7 separate regions of the Homo sapiens genome follow, and all the other regions are linked to region 1. Evidence: promoter capture Hi-C in 16 types of primary human blood cells and fetal thymus (Javierre and others, 2016). All regions are on one chromosome and are shown on one strand. Each heading gives the region's core, a stretch centred on a gene start or on the middle of the fragment in contact. The rest is flanking DNA. Distances are from core to core; before and after follow the strand shown.

Region 1 (3,037 bases), core at 341-2,840:
TGGGAGTAGGCATTAGCTGGGTGAAGAAATGGGTGAAATGTGCTTCAGGCAGAGGGGCCAGAAAGTGGGAAGAAAGGCAAGGGCAGCTGTAACAGCAGGGACCTTTGGGGAAGTGCCAGAAGTTCTCAGCAGGAGGGGGAAGTTAGAGAAATGAGGAGCAATGAGGTTGGAAAGACTTGACTAGGTCTTGAAAGATCTGGTAGGCTGCACAAAAGAATTTTATTCTAGAGGTGACAAGCAACCTATGTAGAGGTGTAATCAAGAGGCCATTACACCTTTTACACATCTTATTCTGTGGTGGCAGCATGGAGAATGACTACCACACTGTTTGGAGGTTATTGAACTAATTAATTCAGGTGTGCTAAGACACTAGGATATCTCTGAGCACAGAAATATATCTCTGTGCTCAAATATTCATCTACTGTTAAATAGTCTTCATGAGCTAAATTCTTGAGAAAATCTAGAGGTGCAACTTTCCCATTTCTTTTCATCTATCAACATTTTCTTTAATAACCTGCATTTTTTTTTATCTTAACTGGATTTAACCAGCCTAGGTTGTTTTACTGTCCTTTCTTTCTGTTCTCTTTTTAACTAATCAAGACAGACTTTATTCCCTTGGTTTTGTCTACAATTTCAATGATCACTGATTTAAATTGCTGTTAAGAAACAGGTTGTGTGTGTATAATCTTATTTAACATCAGGTTTCTAATCTGGTAACATTTAACATGCAGATAAATGTACTATACTTTTATGAAATTTCATTTCTTTATACCTCTATCACAAAGCAGGGTTCTGGACGTACTATTTCACTGGCAGTTCACATTTGAGTAAGTAACTTACAGATACTGTATAGACAGTTCATTTTAAAAAGGGCCCCTGCTTAAACCTTTGTCAACAATTTGATGAATCAGCAGAACTGCTAAGATAACCTCCCATCTAGAGAAACAAAAAGGAGAAATACATATTTTTGCAATTTTTTATTACCCAAGGTAAGATCAAAAAGGTCAGTTCCTGAGATGCCATTATCCTTATTAATTCAAATAAAACAGATTCAACCAGGGTTAGGCAAAGTGCTGAATAGCAGCTTGTTGGAAAGAACAGCTCTCACGGTCATTGTACACCAAAGTTTTGTAACATTTTCCTGTGTTGGGAATGAGGATGTCAACAATGATACCTTCCCAAGTGTGGGCGATTAAGTTTTTAGCACACACACACATCTACACACACAGACATTCACTCACACATACACACACTCACACACTACTTCGGGCTGTTATTGAGCTGCTTTTGTGCACTTCGGGCCACCTCTGCAGATGCCCTTGATCTCTGGGTCCTACCCTGATCTCTCCCGGGTACTCACAGAGTCTGCGTACTGGGCGGTAAGCTGGGGATGCGTTGAATATCCTTGCAGGTGACTCTGAAGTCCTCCTCCTGATGGCACTCGCAGGGTGGAGACGAACACCCCATTCCGCCCAGGTCCCTGGGCAGGTCGAGCAGCAGCACCAGCTGCAGCAAGTCCGCCGGCCTCATTTTCCACGGGACTCGGGGCTATTTCTCCATCCTCCGAAATCGCCTCATTCTCAGCTCTGCACCTCGGGTTACCCCAGGCCAAAGGAGACCCGGGAGCGGGAGGGGTGGGAAGAGGGAGGGCTCCAAGGGGCTGTGACCTCACCACTGTGGAGGAGGCTGGAGAAGGGGAAAAAGAGGCACTTAAGTGCTCCGCTTCCCTAGGCAACCTTGACCCAAACAAGTCTGCTTGCTTCACTTTCCTTGGCTGGACCCACGCAGTCCGCTCCGTCTGTTCCCTGACACCCAACACCAGTCCTGGCTGTCCCCTCTGTTTTCCAGCCCGCCCCCCCACCCCGGGCGCCCCTCCCATTAGTTCTCTCCAAAGCCTAGTTTAGATGCCCCCTCCTTTCCTCCTCTTTAAATCCAAGGAGCCACCTTCCCTAGCGTGTAGCCTTCTAGACACCCTGTCTGCCTGGGAGCCACTCGCACGCACTCCTTATCCAGAGAAAGTCCCCGCGGAGTGGACTGTCCGCGGGCGGACCAATGTCCTGCAGAACTTCAGCTCCTCCTGGCCAGAGACACCTCTGCTGAGGGTCAGAGGCGGGCACGCAGCCCTGGCTAGCCCGCGGTGCGGCCGAAGCCGTCGCCCTGCACCCCTGGAGGATTCTCGTTGCTATCCAACTGCAGGGGCCACTCCGGTGGTTGAGTCGACTGGCAGCGGCCGCCTCACGTTGCAGCCCGCGGCTCCGCGAGGCAATTCAGGAACTGAACTTTGGGGCCATCTGCTGGGAAGAATCGGGAATGGCAGAAATAATTCCAGGTTCCCTTAATAATGGGTCCAGTATGGAAATTCTGGTCGACCCAAGAATTTCATTGAGTCATATTCCCCCTGGAAGATGGGAAGAAAAATAATACTTAAGTGGCATACTCACCATTCTTCGCACAGTAGCCAAAAAGATCATTACAAACATAAATCAGATTGTGCCTATTTCCTTCTTAAAAGTCTTCAATCACTTATTCCTCTTGGGATAAAAGGAATGTCAATTCCTTCTATACTGCATAATTCCTTTTATATGAACTTGGCTAGGACAGGAAGGAAAAAGTTGTGGTTATGGGAATCAGAATAAAGGTTAGGAAAGATTGACTAGAAAAAGACAGGAGGGAACACACAGGGTTTCCATATCGTAATTAGGCTGGAGGTTAAGTGGATGTATACATTTATCAAAATTCATTAAACCGTACATTTAAAATATGTGTATTCCAAATTTTACAGAAGCTTTATTCATAACCACTAAACGAACCAAGTGTCTCGCGACTAGATAATGGATAAACAAACTCTGATACCTCCACATTGGAATACTATTCTGCAATAAAAATGAATGAACTGCTGATACAACATGCACAAATTTTCTTTTCTTTTTTTTTTTCTTTTGAAACGGAGTCTTGCTCCGTCGCCCAGGCTGGAGTGCAATGGCGCGATCTCGGCTCACTGCAACCTTTGCCTCCGAGGTTCAAGCAATTCTGCTGC
Region 2 (3,037 bases), core at 399-2,898, 220 kb after region 1:
TATCTATCTAGATATAAATATGAATCTGTGTGTGTGTGTGTGTGTGTGTGTGTGTATGTGTATATACATTTTACTAGTTTTAAGTTTCACCCTAGTAATGGCTGTGGGTGTGGCCTGTCCTGGCCCAAAGATACTTTATTTCTTGCCTTAATGAATTTTTGACAGGCACACAATTGAGAAATGTGTTTTGTTTTATGTATCACCTAGCATAGAGTTTCTATGAAGGCAGTGATTTTTTAATGTTTTGCTGAATGCTGTGTCTCCAATGCCTAGAAAGAGCGTGGTGCACAGTAGACGTGTGAAATATTTGTTGAACAACTGAATGAATGAGGGAAGTAATGAAAGAACACTAAAGGAGCACAGTTAATAGGGGAGCCATAATACTAATATTTAGTGAAAAAAAAAATCACTCTTCCAAAAGAAAGCATAGTTTTTCCCCAAAGTTTAGATTTAGAAAGACAGAGATGATATCTTGCCATTGGCCCAAATTTATTTATTTTTCCCTGTTTTGAAATTTATTGGATACTTATTAAACTCTGAATAACCAAAATAAAAATCAGCAAATATTTGGCAGAAGTTGATTAAGTAATTTAATTAGAGTGGTTTACATATTGTTTATGACACTCTGGAATTAGGTAACAGTATTTGTCTTTTCTAATATTTCAGTTATGTATTACATTTTATGGTAGCAATATTTAAATAGTTTATATTTTATTCATTTCGTGACGGTATCCTCTAAGAGCTTCCTGATTCATTTAGGGACACAATAACATTGTTAGTATTAATTCTAGCCCTATTGTATACTATGATTTAACTCTCTAGTGTAACGTGAAAAAAATTCAAAATACCAAAATATCAAAAAAAAAGAATATTAAAACTTTGTGTCTAAAATAGTCTCAGTCTTTAAGAGTAGAATGACTATAACTTTTAGAGTATGATTCTGTATGTACTACTAGTCATAGAAAAGCTTGAGCCTGATTATGTATGTTGAGTAGAAGGGGCTGTTGATGGGAGAGGTCGAACAGGTGGAAGTTTAGCTGGTATAGCAGGATCCTGGAAGATACGGGTGGATGAGGTCAAAAGTAAAGGTAGAGAAGTGAATGTTGGAAAGAACAAGGGCAAAAGAGTTAGGGATTTCTTCTTTTAAGATCTTTTTAGTGTTTTGAATATGCTAGTATATTTGGCAGATTCACTTATCACAATAATTTTTGTAGTGGTTTTCTTATTTTGATGGGTAGCTTCTTAGCATCTGTAATTGGGTCTAATCTTTGTGTTATATAAGCTCAAAAAAAAGGATGAACATATACATAGTCTAGAAGTAGGCAGTAGAGGAAAGATACATTAGCTCCCTATCCCTTGTATATGCTCAAAGAAAGGATGAGTATTTGGAGAAAAGGAGAGAAGGGATGAGAAGTAGCCACTGGATTTGCAATGTAAAACTTTGGCATGACCTGCGTTGGTAGAAGTCTTAGGAGTGGTTTAAGCCAGATTGCCAAATCAGTATTTTTGGCAACCTGCTTCCAAAGCATAAAGCTTGTCATATGATGTATATCCAAAGCATTAGAGCCACCTTAGTGGCGAATCTGGCACACTATTCACTGATTATTCTGGCCATATACATGGCTGTGAGCATAAAGAGATGCAGTAGACTCCCCTTATGTGTGGAGACTTAGGCACCCTAGTGGATGCCTGAAACTGCAGGTAGTACCAATCCCTATATGAACTGTTTTTTCCTATACATACAAACCTATGATAAAGCTTAATTTATAAATTATAAACAATAAAACATTAATAATAATTAATAAAATAGAACAATTATAACAATATAGTATAATAAAAGTTACTCGAATGTGATCTCTGTCACTAGGTGTCTTATTATACTGTACTTACCTATTTTCGGACTGCAGTTGACAGGCAGTGATTGAAACCAAATTGAAACTGTATGACTTAGATTTTTTCTATCTAAAAATAGGGGGGAGACTACTGTATGACTTAGATTTTTTCTATCTAAAAATCTGATTTTAATCTAATGTGATAGATTTTGGATCTGTCAATAGTGTTCTCAACTTTTTAATGGTTTATTCCTTTGGTTTCATCATTCCCAGTGTTCTGAGAAACTTTTCAGCTGGTTTTTCTGCTTTTCCCTGCTCATCCTTCGAATTTCTATGCTACTTGTACAGTTGGTGGTCAATTGCTGTTAACAGAGGATAATGTCTTATAATTTATTTGTGGGACAGAAATAACGGAGGGACTCTCGAACTGTAGGTATCTTTTCTAACATGTAGTTTAGACTTTATGTTGTGCTTATACATTATTTATATATTGGTTTACTTTTCTAGTCATCCAGTCACTCATTCGTCTATCACTTATTCTGCAAATCATTTCACAGTTTTTCAGATTTGTCTTACTGAAGAAATAATTTAGAATCATGATATTCATAGAAGTGTCCTTTAGTCCCAAAACAGGAAGAAGCAAGTTTTTTCTATTCCATATTGGAGTGTAATATTTAAACATTCTGAAGTAACTTATGGGATGATTTCTAAATGTAATATCATTTATTTATTTGGACTCTGGTTAATTTTTTAAAATTGAATTTATCATCGGATTGATTGATTGAGATGGGGTCTTGCTCTGTCACCCAGGCTGGAGTGCAGTGGCGCCATCTTGGCTCACTGCGGCCTTGACCCCTCAGGCTCAAGCAGTCCTCCCATCTCAGACTCCTGAGTAGCTGGGATTACAGGTGCATGCCACCATGCCTGGCTAATGTTTTTATTTTTTAATTTTTGTATAGAGATGAGGTCTTGCTAGGTTACCCAGGCTGGTCTCAAACTCCTGGACTTAAATAATCCTAGACCTTGTTTTCCTGAGTTACTGGGATTACAGGCATGAAACTGTGCACCTGGCCTTAGCATCTTATTTTTACATTGTGACCAGCTTGTTCAGAAGTTCAATGGTGTAGATCATTAGAGATAATTAAAATAAGTGATTTTAATTGATAAATTGAGAACATTATTAAAACTCATCAGTTATTTAACAT
Region 3 (3,037 bases), core at 254-2,753, 200 kb after region 1:
TTGCAAAAATATGTAGTTCTCCAGTTAGTTAGTTTTGGGTAGAACAATGACATGAAGATGAGAATATTTGAGTAACCACAGATAATGCCCTGAGATTGGTGAGTAAGACATGGGTGGGAGGTGATGGAAAGATAAAGTTTACCTTTGAAGGCCAACTATGCATTAGAGAAGCCTCCTAAAACAAAGCATTCTTAACAAGAAAATGAAAGTATAGTGATTGAGCATTAGACTTTAACAACAGTGAACCTGTGCATTTCTAGCCATTTTTGATAGAAACAAATACAAATTTGTATTTATGCCACCTGAATAGGGAATTTAGAATACACGTTTTGCTGTCTCAGAATGTTTTGGCCAGAAATTTCTGTTGTGCATTAATATTGCGTTTCTCATTTTTCTTTTCCTCAGCTTTACAATTCTGACAACAAGAGCAATGTACTTAGAATTTTCTTTCAAGTTAAAATCTTTATCATTTCTGAACAGAAAGCTTTCACTGCAGTAGTTCAGTTAAACTATGAGAGCCACAGATGATTCTTAATCATAGCTCTTTAATTTGGGAGCTTGTGAGCAGTTTTCCCTTATCATTTAATGGGATTGAACTTCTGATCAGACCCCTTCTATTACTGCATGAGACAACTGTTCCTTCTACAGTGTAAACGGGTTGTGATGAAAAATACCACACTGACCAACTGACTAAGGGGGAATTGAATCTATTTGCTAGAAAGATGGGTTAGGTTATTGATGGGCTACAGTACTATAATTCCCATGAACTATGACTGGACAGCTCTATAAGTATTGAAGATAAGATCTGAAATCAGAGGACAAAAAACTATATGGAAAGTAGAATTGCTCTTCAGATAGTCCATTCTGACGTCTTGCAGTATTAGAAGGACCTCTGAGGGCATTCAGTAATTGTTTTCATAAATCTACCAAATGAATTTGTTCTGTTAGTGTTAATTCTAGAAAACAAGGATTGGGTGGGGATTGCACACAGTTGCTTTGTTGGCACTGGTGGCATAATAAAATTATGAAGTCCAATTGAGAGTTGGACTATACTTACAGGTAAAATAGCTAATGAATGGTAATAATAAGAAATTACAGGAAGGAAGAGGGTTGAGATGGTCTGTATTAGTCAGGGTTCTCCAGTGGGACAGAACTAATGGAATAGATCTATTTTTAAAGGGGAGTTTATAAGTATTTACTCACATGATCACAAGGTTCCACAATAGGCCATCTGCAGGCTGAGGAGCAAGGAGAGCCAGTCCAAGTTACAAAACTGAAAAACTTGGAGTCCAATGTTCAAGGGCAGGAAGCATCCAGCATGGGAGAAAAATGTAGGCTGGGAGGCTCGACCAGTCTGTCTTTTCATATTTTTCTGCCTCCTTATATTTCAGCCACACTGGCAGCTGATTAGATTGTGCCCACCCAGATTAAGGGTGAGTCTGCCTTTCCCAGCCCACTGACTCAAATGTTAATCTCCTTTGGAAACACCCTCACAGACACACCCAGGCTCAATACTTTGTATCCTTCAGTCTAATCAGTTTGGCACTCAGTGTTAACCATCACATGGTCATTAAGGAATGCCAGGTAAGCAGTTTCCGTAGATGAGGGGTATGTTTTTGTAACAAGTTCTAACAAGGTATGGTAAGGCCATGTTTTCTTCAGCTTAATGGAATTTACTGAGAAACTACTACGTCTCAGATGCTGTTACATGCTGTGGGCATAAAAAATGAACAAGACGTCCGGGCACAGTGGCTCACGCCTGTAATTCCGGCACTTTTGGAGGCCGAGGTAGGGGGAATCATGAGGTCAGGAGATTGAGACCATCCTAGCTAACACGGTGAACCCCTGTCTCTACTAAAAATACAAAAAATTAGCCGGTCATGGTGGCACGTGCCTGCAGTCCCAGCTACTCGGGAGGCTGAGGCAGGCAAATTGCTTGAACCCAGGAGGCAGAGGTTGCAGTGAGCCAAGATTGTGCCACTGCACCCCATTCTGGTGACAGAGCAAGACTCCATCTCAAAAAAAAAAAAAAAAAAAAAAGAACAGGACATTGTCCTGGTCTTTAGGAAAGACAGACAATATGCAGATAATTTCAGTCTTACAAGCAGGAGCTGTAATAGAAGTATGCAGAAGCTGCCATGGAGGCTGATGTCCCAGATGAATATTGAAACCATCCAGGTAAAGAGCAAAGAGCAAACATGCAAAGAACAAAGTTCTAGGAAAGGCACAGAACAGAAGCAATTTGATGAATGCAAAGAACACTCAAATGATTTAGCAATAGTAAAATATGAAGGTATGACACAGAGAATGGCAGGGGATGGGGCTCCAGAGGGATTAAGTTCATCCAGTAGAGCATTGTTTGCCATTTTGAGGATCCTGGATTCAGATCTACATTGCATGGAGAATCACAAAGGAGTTTTGAACAGGAGAATGGCATGCTTATATTTATATTTTGGTAGTGAGGTGAAAGGTAGATTAGAGTTGGTAAGATTTGAGGTAGAGAAACCAGTTAAGAAGCTTTTCCCATACAGTGAGATAGAGTGAGAGTCTGAATTAAGAAAATTGTTCAAACATTCAGAGGAAAGGACAGACTGGAGTAATTTTGTTGACAGCATACACATGATGAGAGATGTTATATTCTAGGGTAATGGAGAAAGAGATTTCCAGGATTTTCTAGCCAAAGTAGTCAGGGATTGGTATCTGAATAAATGATCATGTAGTGTCCCAGATAGGCAAATTCGTGGCAGTATTGAAAGAGTTTCCACCAGAGAGACTGATAGTCAGAAACTTCTATTTGGACAGGAAGGCCCCAAGAGAAGCAAGGACAAAGACACAGATCACAGTTTTTGTTCACATCATGGCAAGAAGTGAGAAGTACCAAAGATATTCACATTGAGACGGTAGGGATAACATGTCAAATCTAGCGCAGGCCAGCACTCTCAGGATGGACTCACATACTAGAGATAATCACTGTTGAGCCCACATGTTACATTATTGTTTTGTGACAGAGAATAAAGAAAAGCTAATATTAGCTGTG
Region 4 (3,037 bases), core at 313-2,812, 200 kb before region 1:
GTTACATGGCTATATTGTATAATGGTGAGGTTTGCACTTCTAGTCTACCCGTCACCTGAATACTGAACATTGTACCCAATAGGTAATTTTTGACCTTTGCCCCCTCCGACTCTCCCCAGTATCTATTATTTCCCACTATATGTCCATGTGTACCCCTTGTTTAGCTCCCACTTATAAGTGAGAACATGTAATATTTGACTTTCTGTTTCTGAGTTATTTCACTTAGGATGGTGGCCTCCGGCTCCATCCATATTGCTGCAAAAGACCTGCTTTTATTCTTTTTTAGGGCAGCATAGTATTCCATGATGCATGTATACCATATTTTCTTTCTCCAATCATTTGTTGATGGACAGTTAGGGTGATTCCATGCCTTTGCTATTGTGAACAGTGCTGTGATAAACACAGAGTGCAGGCATCTTTTTGATAGAATGATTTCTATTCCTTTGAGTAGGTACTCAGTGGGATTGGTGGGTCAAATGGTAGTTCTACTTTTAGTTCTTTGAGACATCTCCATACTTTTTCTGTATTCCCACCAACAATGTATAAGCGTTTGTTTTTCTCCACATCCTTGGCAACATCAGCTGTTTTTTGATTTTTTAATTAATAGCCATTATGACTGGTGTGAGATGGTATCTCATTGTGGCTTTAATTTGCATTTCTCTGATGATTAGTGATGTTGAACATTTTTCATGTTTGTTGGTTGCTTGTATGTCTGAAGAAATGTCTGTTCATTGTTTATGTCCTTTGCCCACTTTTCTTTTCTTTTCTTTTTTTTTTTTTTGAGACAGCGTCTTCCTTTGTTGCCCAGGTTGGAGTGCAGTGGTGTGATCTTGGCTCACTGCAATCTCCACCTCCTAGGTTCTAAGAGATTCTCCTGCCTCAGCCTCCGGAGCAGCTGGGATTACAGATGTGCACCATCACGCCCGGCTAATTTTGTATTTTTAGTAGAGACGGGGTTTCACCATATTGGCGAGGCTGGTCTTGAACTCCCGACCTCAGGTGATCCACCTGCCTCGGTCTCCCAAAGTGCTGGGATTACAGGCGTGAGCCACCGTCTCTGGCCATCCTTTGCCCACTTTTAAATGGAGTTATTTGTTTTTTTCTTGTTGAACTGAGCCAAACAAAAGCTCAGTTCAGGCAGGCCATGGTTGCTTATGCTGGTAATTCCAGCACTTTGAGAGGCTGCTGCGGACGGATCGCTTGAGTCGAGGAGTTCTGAGACCAGCCTGGGCAACATGGCGAAACCCCATTCTACAAAAAAGTACAAAAAATTAGCTGGGCATGATGGTGCTCTCCTGTAGTCCCAGCTACTCAGGAGGTTGAGGTGGGAGGATTGCTTAAACTTGGGAGGTGGAGGTTGCGGTGGGTGACAGAATGAGTCCTTGTCTCAAAAAAAAAAAAAACAAAAACAAAAAACAAAAAGAAAAAAAAATGAAAAAGCTTAATTTAACAGTTTTTCTTGCATGTGAATGACCTCTGAGCTTTTAAATGGAAAGTTGACACTGAGTTTTGGTGAATGGCAGGGGTTTTTGGTTTGTAATACAAGTGCTTTTTTTCTTATTAAGTTTTTCCTTGTAGGTTCTGGGTATCAGTCCTTTGTTGGATGCATAGTTTGCAAATATTTTCTCCCTTTCTGTAGACTGTTTACTCTGTTGATTATTTCTTTTGTTGTGCAGAAGCTTTTTAGTTTAATTAAGTTTCATTTTTCTGTTTTTGTTACGTCTTAGTCATGAATTCTTTGCGTAGGCCAATATCTAGAAGAGTTTTTCTTAGGTGTTCTTCTAGGATTTTTATGGTTTCAGGTTTTATGTTTAAGTCTTTAATCCTTCTTGAGTTAATTTTTTTTTATAGGGTGAGAGATAGGGGCCAAGTTTCATTCTTCCACATGTGGTTATCCAATTTTTCCTGCACCATTTATTGAAAAGAGAGTCCTCTGCCCAGTGTAACTTCTTGTTAGCATTATTGAAGATAAGTTGGATTGTTGGTATGTGGCTTCATTTCTGGATTCTCTATTTTGTTCCATTGATCTATGTGTCTATGTATGTACCAGTACTATGCTGTTTTGGTTATAATAGCCTTGCAGTGTAATTTGAAGTCAGGTAGTGTGATGCCTCCAGCTTTGTTCTTTTTGCTTAGGATAGATTTCTATGGAGTAACACTGCTCTGTAGTAACATTCAGAAACTGTAATAATTTTTATACTGTGGTGACACATATATCTTCCTCTCTAGATTCAAAGTTTTTTTAAAGTCTGGGACACAGTTAAAAAAATTCTGATGTATATGCTCTGCTTGCAGAAGGTACTCAATAAATGAATACAAGTCAAACAAATGCTCAATTCAAACACTTTCTTGCATGTAGATGACTAGTTCTCTGGGCTTTTAAATGGGAAGTTGAGACTGAGTTTTACTGAATTGCAGGAGTTTTTAGCTTGTAACCACAAGTGCTTCCTTACTGTAAGATAGATGACTCAATGAATAGGCTTCTTACAGAGAAAATGATGGACAGTGGACTCTTTTTTAATGATCGGTAAGAATTTATATAAGGCCATGTCTAATTTTTAACTACAGAGGATGACTATATCATAAAACAGAAAATTGTCAAATGTTCATGCTCTACCAGGGGTAAGCTATTATATTTGAGAGGACACATTTTTTTTAAAATTTCAATAGTTTTTGGGGAACAGGTAGTGTTTGGTTGCATGGAAAAGTTGTTTAGTGGTGATTTCATGGGAAAGTTGTTTAGTGATGATTTCTGAGATCTTTGTGTACCCGTCACTCAAGCAGTGTACACTGTACCTGGTGTGTACTCTTTAATCCCTCACCCACCTCCCAACCCTTCCCCCTGAGTCCCCAAAGTTCATTATATCATTATTATGCCTTTCATCCTCATAGCTTAGCTCCCACTTATAAGTGAGAACATATGATGTTTGGTTTGGGGGAGGATACATTTTTAAGGGCTCAGCATCAATTAAACATTTCATAGACATGAAAAATAATATATCAGAAATTCAATTCAAATCCAGCACGTATTTATTGA
Region 5 (3,037 bases), core at 379-2,878, 180 kb before region 1:
ATCTCTTGGGTTCTGCTTAAAATGTCCAATGGACTTGCTCTTCTCAACTGGAGGCTAGGGAAAAATCTAGACCCTGCCCCTGAGGTCCACTTAAGCCTCCCACCCAGCCCTTGTCCAGTCCTTCTCAATGCCGCATGGCATCAGTGTAGAGTCCACTATCACCATCCTCTACCCCACTCCTGGCTTTTTGCAGCTATGATGCCCATATTGGCCTTCTTTGTGTGTGTGTGTGCATGTGCCTGTGTGTGATGGAATCTCAGAATCTTGCTTTGTTGCCCAGGCTGGAGTGCACTGGCACGATCTCGGCTCACTGCAACCTCCGCCTACCGGGTTCAAGCAATTCTTCTGCCTCAGCCTCTCCAGTAGCTGGGATTACAGGAACCCACCACCACATCTGGCTAATTTTGTTTTTTGTATTTTTAGTACAGACGGGGTTTCACCATGTTGGCCTGGCCGGTCTCGAACTCCTGACCTCAGATGATCTGGCCATCTCAGCCTCCCAAAGTGCTGGGATTACAGGCGTGAGCCACTGTGCCCGGCCACCATATTGGCCTTCTTTGTATGGCTGTTTTAGCTTCTGCCCTCACACCTAGATCTGATATTTTCCTGACTGCAATTATGTGTGTAGTAAGTCAATCACTAAATACATAGAAGCTGAGGAGGACTGAATAGAGATGATGAAGGTGGATTAGGAGAACAGGAGATTGTACAAGACACAATGGGGGAAATAATGCAGAGTAAAAGCAAAAAAGTAAAAGAATCAGAGAAAGCCTGGAGAGAAAATGAAGGCAATTCCTCCTTCGCAGGCTCATAAGCAGCCTGATGTGCACATACTGTATATCATAGTTAATATTAATGAAGATCTTATAATATTCCAGGCCATTCCATTCCAGTGTTTTCCATTCAGTTTCTCATTTAATCTTCTCAAAACTGCTATGAATGTTAGTATTAGGATCTCCATTCCCAAAGACTCAGAGTGGTTAAGTAACTAGGCTGGGATAACACAGCTTGAAAAATGGCAGAGCTGCGGTATAAACCCAGCTGACTCCAAAGCCTGCAGGCATGTAACCAGGGAGCTATGACATTTGCAAGGCCCAAACCAATCAGGTAACCCAACTGTTTGTGTTGTTTATAAGTCTGTTCTCATGGTTGTGGTGTCTGGGGTCTAATATGTGTTGCAGTATCTAATTCTGAATTGTACCTGGAAACCGGACATCATATCTACATAACCTCTACAAGATTCTATGAGATCTGGTTGTGTTTCTCTCTCCTGTGCCATCTGTCACCTCCTCTGCTCTACCGCTATCCAGCAGCAATTGCCTTATTTCTCAGCTGCACCCACTTTGGGTCCGCAGGGTCACTGTGTCCCATGGATTTCCTGTTTCATATGGATGCTTCCAATTTCCTCTCCACCTGGTTTTCAAACCAGGAAGCATCTTCCCCAAAACCAAGAAATGAATTCCACTTCCACCAAGGTCTTTTGTCACTTATGCCGGGTCCCTGCCACTTACCCTCTGATTTTCTTCTGATTCTTAAAAGCACAGCAGTGGCTTGGGTAAGAAAGGTCAGCCCGTGTGAGGTGAAGGAAACTCAAGGAAAGTGGAAGTTTCTTAAGAGTCCAGGTGTTTCTTGCTATCAGTTCCTTCAGGTGCTCCAGGCCTTTGGATGGAAGGGCAGTGACACTGGTTTGAGACACGTCCCTGGGAGGCAGAGAACAGAAAAATGCAGAGAGGCAGTGAGCAGCCAGGGCCTTCTCAGCCTTGGCCAGAAACTCAAACAGGCCTGAGGTTAATTGGGAGATGATATGCTCCTTTCTTCTACTGAGTACATAAGCTGAGCTTCTGGTCTAAGGAGGGATGGATATTAGGCTTCTAAGCCTGTGTTATAGGAACTCCTTGGAATTCCAGTATCCAGTAGTACAAATGCTATTTCCACAGTCATTTTATTCTATCCATCACAATACATGCAAACTCTTGGAATCAGAGAGAGATGTCAATTTTACTCTGCAACATGCCACCATGTGACTATGAAAGGGTCTCAAGAGGCAAGAGAAATGAAGTAGAACAGAGACGAAGGGGACTACTTTGCTATCAGCTGCTGTGGGGACTAGAGTTTGGGGACTGATAAACTGCTCACTGATATGAATCAACATCAGTATCATGAAAATCTGATAATGATGCAGACCTCAGAGTCATAACCAGTTACATTGGGAATTCATGACTGACAACATTTCCCCCCATCCCCCGCCACTCCAGTGTCTTTAGAAGACTGTAAATTGATTCTTGGAAAGAAAACTCAAGTGTTGATATTAACAATGTGAAATCAGATTCAAATCACTTCTGAGAACAATGGGGTGAGGGGGGTGGTGGTCAGGCTGGGAACATGTAGACATCAGTGTTAGTTACTAAAATAGAATGAATTCGTGGCATTAGTGTGGCATTCTCTGCTCTTTTCTGAATCCCAGAGAGTCCAGGTTCCATGTCTTGCTCCATCATTTTTATTGGCACCATTAATAGCTTGAATAAGGCCATGAATATTTAACCTAATATCCCTCCTATTTTATATTTTGTCAATTAAAATATTCCTCATAGAAGATAATTCCATTTAAAATATTTAATATAATTAATAGTATCCAATTAGCTAGTGAATTCCATTATTTTCCATTTCCTCCCCCCACATCGTTGTAATTGGACTTAGCTGGGGTTTACATTCTCAAGGTTCAAGGCCGTCAGAACTTAAAGCTCATGTATTAACCCCATTCTCACCACAGGACTGTTACTCTTGTGAGGAAAGGGTTGGTGCAGTTGCTATTTTGTTTTGTATTTAATTAAAAAAATATATAATCTAGCATTTTCCAAACTGGTCTGCTGGTAAGAATTACCCTTGGTGCTGCTGGGTGCGGTAGCTCACGCCTGTAATCCCAGCACTTTGGTAGGCTGAGGCGGGCGGATCACGAGGTCAGGAGTTCAAGACCAGCATGGCCAACATAGTGAAACCCCATCTCTACTAAAAACACAAAAATTAGCCGGGTATGGTG
Region 6 (3,037 bases), core at 261-2,760, 170 kb before region 1:
TCAACCTCCCGAGTAGCTGGGATTACAGGCGCCTGCCACCGCGCCTAGCTAATTTTTGTATTTTTCAGTAGAGACGGCGTTTCACCATGTAGGCCAGGCTGGTCTTGAACTCCTGACCTCAAGTGATCCACACCGCCTCAGCCTCCCAAAGTGCTGGGATTACAGGCCTGAGCCACCACGCCCAGCCTAATTTTTATTAAAATAATGCATGGACCTATTTTTAAAAAGCAAATTATACTGGAAGCTTGTTAATACAAGAGGCAGCCCTTCCCTGCAGTCTGGTGTCTGATGTCCCAGAAGTAACCCCTTTTAACTTCTGGTATTTCCTTCCATAAGTGTAAGTATTTCTTGATGTATTGTTTTTAGGTTTTATCCGCTAACTCTCTACTATAGAAGATGAGGATTTGGCTTTCTTTTATCATCCCTCACCCCTACACATTTCCTCTCCTGACACACTCTTCTACTCTCCTGAAATAGTTTTGTGACATATTTGGTTAAACCCATATTCAGTACTGTGGTTATTGCAACTTTGCATATTGCGCTTTCATTTCCTTTGTCATGTAACTGTTTGTTTTTTTTTTCATAAGATGTCCATCTGTCTCTCTCTTTTTATTTGGGTGTCTTTGTTTGAACAAACCTCTTGCTAAGTTTTCTACATGCTCCAATGTTCTTTAAAACACCTCTCAAGGCCAGGAGCGGTGGCTCACACCTATAATCCCAGAACTTTGGTAGGCCTAGGCAGGTGGATCGCCTGAGGTCAAGAGTTCGAGACCAGCCTGGCCAACATGGTGAAACCCCATCTCTACTAAAAATACAAAAATTAGCCAGGTATGGTGTTGGCACCTGTAATCCCAGCTACTTGGGAGGCTGAGGCAGGAGAATTGCTTGAACCCGGGAGGTGGAGATTGCAGTGAGCTGAGATCGCACCATTGCACTCCAGCCTGGGTGACAGAGCAAGACTTCGTCTCAAAAAAAAAAAAAAAAAAAAAAAAAAAAAAAAAAAAAAAAAGGAAAAGAAAACACATCTCAAACCAGTTTTTCACACAATGAATTCCATCAAATAATCTATCAATCCTTTTATTTTTTTGAGACAGAGTCTTGCTCTGTCTCCCAGGCTGGAGTGCAGTGGTGCAATCTCGGCTCACTTGCAGCCTCCGCCTCCTGGGTTCAAACGATTCTCCTACCTCAGCCTCCCAAGTAGCTGGGACTACAATTATGCACCAACATGCCTGGCTAATTTTTGTATTTTTAGTAGAGATGGAGTTTCACCATGTTGGCTAAGCCGACCTCAAACTCCCGACCTCAAGTGATCCGCCTGCTTCTGTCTTCCAGAGTGCTGGGATTACAGGCATGATACACCGTGCCCAGCCAACCCTCTTTTATTTCTAGAAGACCTTCCTCTTGGAGTCTTCATTCTTCAGCTCTGATGTAGACATCATGTTCCCAAGATTCCTCAGACCTCCCTTTGTGGTCATCCTGGGGATTCTATTTGCTTCTTTCCTGTGTTGATCACTGTTTTAACAAAGTCCTCATTTTTCTTTTTCCTGGTTTATTCTCCAAGAAAAGGTGAACAGGAAATCAAGGTTTTGAGATTTTGCATGTGAGAAAATATCTTTATTTTATCAATCATACTTGATTGGTAGTTTGGAAATGACTTTCCCTTCAGAATTCAACAGGTGTATTCTATCTATGGTCTTCTTCAATGTCGCCATTGAGAAGGCTGAGGGCATTCCGATTCTCCCACCTGCACAGGCCACATGATTTCTCTGTCTAGACGCCTTTAATTTATTATTTTTATCCCATTGATTTCATGTTTTATGATGTACCTTCATGCCTCCCCACCCTTTTTTTTTGCCATATGGGTTCTCCGTGGGTCTTTTTATTCTGAAAATTCATTTTCTTTATTAATGGGAAATCTGCTACACTATTTTTCAGTTTTTGTTTTCTCTTCCTAAAACTTTTGTTAGTTGGGTTGTGGACCTCGTGGCTTGAATTTCTAATGTTCATGTTTTTTCTTTCCTCTATTTCATATTTTTTTGCTGTCTCTACTGAGTGCCATTTTTCCCTTTATCTTTAACAACTTCTGCTTACTTTTTTGGTTTTGGCTTTCATGTTTTTAATTTTCAAAAGCTCTTTTATTGTTTTCTGAATATTCCTGTATAAGGAATTGTTTTGCACATGTAAAACATTGTCTCTCTGAGGATATTTGTTATAACTTTCATGAAAGTTTTCTTCTGGTTCTTGCATTGTTTCTGTTCCTTCCAAGTTCCTTTTTCTGTTTATTTTAGTCCTTGTTTTTCATGTCACCACATCTATTCAACATAGTACTGGAAGTCCTAGTTAGAACAATTAGGCAATACAAATAAACGGCATCCAAATCCTAAAGAAAGAAGAGAAACTGTTTCTGAGTGCGGATGACATTATCTTATACAGAAAATCAGAAAGCCTCCACCAAAAACCTGTTAGAACTAAGAAATGAATTCAGTAAAGTTACAGGATACAAAGTCAACCTACAAAAATCAGTTGTGTTTCTATAAACAAACAATAAGCTATCAGAAAAAGAAACAAAGAAAACAATCCCATTTATAATGGCATCAAAACAAAACAAAAACTAGGAATAAATTTAAACCAAGGAGGTGAAAGATCTGTACACTGAAAACTCTAAGACATTGACGTTTTTCATGTCAATGGATTTCCTCGAAGGTCTGCTGGTTCTTGGATGTCTGTTCTTGTTTGTAAGGGAGGCCTATGGGAAGCTCTGTGTGTGGAAGCTTATTGGCTGGTGGGCATTACCATGGTGACTTTGGGAGACTATCAGTGATTCTTTTTTATTTTTTTATTTTTTTTATTATTATACTTTAAGTTTTAGGGTACATGTGCACATTGTGCAGGTTAGTTACATATGTATACATGTGCCATGCTGGTGCGCTGCACCCACTAACTCGTCATCTAGCATTAGGTATATCTCCCAATGCTATCCCTCCCCCCTCCCCCCACCCCACAACAGTCCCCAGAGTGTGATGTTCCCCTTCCTGTG
Region 7 (3,037 bases), core at 163-2,662, 140 kb before region 1:
CATGTGTCTTTTCAAGTTGATAGTTTTTTGAGCCTGAGCTTCGAAGAAGCAAGGACTTTTGCCAAAATGTAGAAATAATCATCTGAAAAGATCATGAATAATCCATGCCATCCTCTCCTCTATATTTTAGGAAATATGGGCTTCCCTCACTCAGATGTTTCTAGAAACACATGCTGGGCTCTATGCTAGGTGTGGGACAATGAGCTTTCACTTGAGGGGGGTGCTTGAGATATGGGGGTTTTAGAGAAATGGTGTCAAGGGGTAGAGGTAATATTCTATAAAGAAGTTTAGCATGTAGGAGTTTCCTTATGATGAGCACTATATGGCGCAATGGAAAGCTTTACTGAGGAAGTAAATGGCTTTGAAGTTTGGAGCTGAGCAGGCTAAGAGCCTGGGCCTTTTCTGCATGGTAAGAAGAAATTATGACTGAGAAGGAGCCTCCTTTGTCTTTTCAAGGGACCGCTCACCAGGTTGTGATGAGAAGGATCATCTGAAATGCTCCATTGCTCTCAGAAGTTGAGGTAACTTCATTGGGCCCAAACTGATAAACTAGGAATGGCTCAGAAAATAGCCCCTTAGAAGAACTGTATGAAGCTTGGATCCATTTTTCTGGTGAGTAATTTGATCAGGTTTGTATCTGATAAAGACCTCCACCCCAACTTTAGTGTGAGCAGAGAAATGAAACTGGGGTGACAATCCAGACAAAAACTTCACCAGGCTTGAACTTGGGCAGTGGTCCTGAAAATAGAGAGGAGACCCTGCAGAGGTAGCTCCAACTCTACTTTGTGACTTACACAATGAGAGAGGAACTTTCTACCAGCTTGGAGAATTAACTTATCCTTTATACCTCTATTAGATCTTCTCCTTTAGAACATTTTGTGAATATCCCTAATTAAGCATCTACTTTTGACCATCTAAAGGGCTTTGCCCCCATTCAGGCTCTGGAAAAATGCTGACCTATAGCAGCACTATGCTTTCTATGTAATATCCCCTTACAGGAGCTTAATAACAGTTTGTGATTACTGAGTAAAAGTGTGAGTGCAGAATTTATAAAGTTCTTAGTGGCACCACTTTTTTTTAACTCAGTGATCTTGGGTAAGTCACTTCAATTTGCTTAAACCCCAGTTCTTCTTCTGTAGAATGGGGACACTTGGATACAGATGATTATTCCATAAGGCCTGCAGGCCAAATCTAGTCCACTGCCTCTTTCTATAAATAAAGTTTTATTGGAACACAGACATGCTCATTAGTGTATATATTGAGTACTGCGGTTTTTGCCACACAATGCCAGAGTTGACCAGTTCCTACAGAGGTTGCATGGTCTGTAATGCCTAACTGGTTCTTCACGTGAAAAATGTACCAACCACTGCCGTAATGGAATCCTCTTGTCTTGTTACCTAAACTGTTTTGTAGTCTACAGAGTACCATCCCATAAGACAATACTATTATTTAATTGTGTAAAACACTTTGTACTCTATAGAGTATATATGATAAGGCAGTATGGCTCTTGGATGGTCTGTAAACATATGAAAATGGCTCAAAATAGAATTTAGTTGATGGAGGGAGTAGAACTGGTAATACTCACAGTGTCAAGGTTTCATTGCATAGTCCCTGAAAAGCATTCACAGGGATTGACGTCATGTAAGGGTTGTCTGTAATTTCACTGCAAGAGAGAGGGACAAAAACACTTAATGAAAAAATGCTTTCCTTCTGCAGCAGGGGTCTTGCTGCGCATATGCACTTAAATAACAGGACACAATATAGCTTAATCTTATTTCTTTTTAAGTTTCACTGACCCTTCTTAACCGCTAGTGGCTCAGAGGTCTGGTGAGGTGGTGAGAGCTGTCCTAGATGACATGCACCTGGAGCCCAAATGTGGGGTAAGTGAGAGCTTTAGGTGTGGGTGGAGGTCCCTGACTTAATCCTCATCTTGGGGTAGGCAGATGGATTTGAGAGGCTTCTCCCGAATCTGCAACACTTTGTCCACAACAACTAGAGTTTTCTACATGCATGGACCTTTAAGAAGGTCAGGATAAAAGGATTAAAGGATTTCATTTAATGAGTATTTCTAAAATGTCCTTCACTTGCCAAACTTCGCCAGGCTCCTGGAGAACCTTTCTACGCCATTCTAGTTTCTGGAAGATTGCTTACATTTTGAACTGAGCTCTTTTGCAACAAAGAAGTATGATCAATTTTTTTTTCTAGCAAAACCCCAAGAGTTTGAAGCTTATCATTCTACATTTTGCTGACTCTTTAATGCAAACTCAACTTGTAATTCTCTCTGCCTTACGTCCTTTCATTCCTATACAATTAGTAAGACAACTGACCCATGTCACCAGCTTTGAAAAAGGGCACATGGGTGCCAATCAAAGGTCACAGGCAGTAATTTGAGTACCACTTCTGACTGTTCCTTGAGACACTGCTCAGACAAAATCACTTGAGGTTTCTATTCCTCAGTTTCCTCATTCATAAATGGAAAAGCAGTAACTTTGTTTTACACCTTATAAGGTGGCTGAGAGGAGCAAATGTCATGTGTGGGAAAGTGTTTAAAAAACTATTAAAACTCTATGAAAAATAAGGTATCATAGTTATCATCAAATATTCCTTCTATTCAACCATTCCCATTGGCAAAGAAACATTGCATAATTTCTTCCATTTAAAAACAAAAACACACAAACAAAATCTTTTCTCCTGACTCAATATCTTGCAATTACTGAGCTATTTTCTGCTCCTTTTAATAGTAAAACCTCTCAAAAGAGTTAATTATGGTAACTCTTTCTAATTCTGTCTACCCAAGTCTCTCTTGAGCCCACTCCAACCAGCACTCCACTGGAACTGTTCTTGGCAGAGTCACCAACAAACCACATTGCTAAAGCCAGTGGTTATTTCTCAGTCCTTGCCTTACTTCATGCCAGTGTAGTCACACCTGATCATTGCTTACTCCTTGAAACAATTGCTTTACTTATCTTCAACCTACCCTCATGACTGTATTCTAGTTCTTGTCAGTGACAAACAAAATATTGTCAAACATGGCATG

What was found. Contacts are between HindIII fragments. The CHiCAGO score rates a contact against its expected background, and 5 or more counts as called.
Region 2: a contact is called between a fragment that was not itself captured here and the fragment with the promoter of TSHR in region 1, in 1 of 17 cell types (total CD8 T cells). The highest score is 5.6, in total CD8 T cells.
Region 3: a contact is called between a fragment that was not itself captured here and the fragment with the promoter of TSHR in region 1, in 1 of 17 cell types (fetal thymus). The highest score is 5.2, in fetal thymus.
Region 4: a contact is called between a fragment that was not itself captured here and the fragment with the promoter of TSHR in region 1, in 16 of 17 cell types (fetal thymus, naive CD4 T cells, total CD8 T cells and 13 more). The highest score is 24.7, in fetal thymus.
Region 5: a contact is called between a fragment that was not itself captured here and the fragment with the promoter of TSHR in region 1, in 5 of 17 cell types (naive CD8 T cells, non-activated CD4 T cells, activated CD4 T cells and 2 more). The highest score is 5.6, in naive CD8 T cells.
Region 6: a fragment that was not itself captured here is called in contact with the fragment with the promoter of TSHR in region 1 in 7 of 17 cell types (monocytes, fetal thymus, naive B cells and 4 more); the score reaches 7.3 in monocytes.
Region 7: a fragment that was not itself captured here is called in contact with the fragment with the promoter of TSHR in region 1 in 1 of 17 cell types (fetal thymus); the score reaches 7.1 in fetal thymus.

Annotation. Positions count from the first base shown.
Region 1 is chr14:80,954,174-80,957,210 of GRCh38, reverse strand. TSHR (thyroid stimulating hormone receptor) reads right to left here and starts at 1,590. Exons shown (of 10, transcript NM_000369.5): 1 at 1,361-1,590. The coding sequence starts at 1,530. It also overlaps a transcript of CEP128 not described here. The HindIII fragment of the contact is 2,816 bases long and covers 1-2,787 here.
Region 2 is chr14:80,737,468-80,740,504 of GRCh38, reverse strand. The region is part of intron 19 of CEP128 (centrosomal protein 128); the gene reads left to right. Among named protein-coding and RNA genes, the nearest start is that of CEP128, 200 kb to the left of the region's middle. The HindIII fragment of the contact is 225 bases long and covers 1,536-1,760 here.
Region 3 is chr14:80,753,463-80,756,499 of GRCh38, reverse strand. The region is part of intron 18 of CEP128 (centrosomal protein 128); the gene reads left to right. Among named protein-coding and RNA genes, the nearest start is that of CEP128, 190 kb to the left of the region's middle. The HindIII fragment of the contact is 2,033 bases long and covers 487-2,519 here.
Region 4 is chr14:81,157,021-81,160,057 of GRCh38, reverse strand. The region is part of intron 2 of TSHR-AS1 (TSHR antisense RNA 1); the gene reads left to right. Among named protein-coding and RNA genes, the nearest start is that of TSHR-AS1, 12 kb to the left of the region's middle. The HindIII fragment of the contact is 239 bases long and covers 1,443-1,681 here.
Region 5 is chr14:81,138,342-81,141,378 of GRCh38, reverse strand. It overlaps TSHR (thyroid stimulating hormone receptor), which reads right to left. Exons shown (of 10, transcript NM_000369.5): 9 at 1,512-1,700. All of the region lies in intron 2 of TSHR-AS1 (TSHR antisense RNA 1), which reads left to right. Among named protein-coding and RNA genes, the nearest start is that of TSHR-AS1, 31 kb to the left of the region's middle. The HindIII fragment of the contact is 6,888 bases long and covers 1-3,037 here.
Region 6 is chr14:81,119,993-81,123,029 of GRCh38, reverse strand. All of the region lies in intron 8 of TSHR (thyroid stimulating hormone receptor), which reads right to left. The region is part of intron 2 of TSHR-AS1 (TSHR antisense RNA 1); the gene reads left to right. Among named protein-coding and RNA genes, the nearest start is that of TSHR-AS1, 49 kb to the left of the region's middle. The HindIII fragment of the contact is 2,527 bases long and covers 247-2,773 here.
Region 7 is chr14:81,091,157-81,094,193 of GRCh38, reverse strand. TSHR (thyroid stimulating hormone receptor) reads right to left here. Exons shown (of 10, transcript NM_000369.5): 6 at 1,586-1,663. It overlaps TSHR-AS1 (TSHR antisense RNA 1), which reads left to right. Exons shown (of 9, transcript XR_007064290.1): 5 at 457-612. Among named protein-coding and RNA genes, the nearest start is that of TSHR-AS1, 78 kb to the left of the region's middle. The HindIII fragment of the contact is 1,632 bases long and covers 597-2,228 here.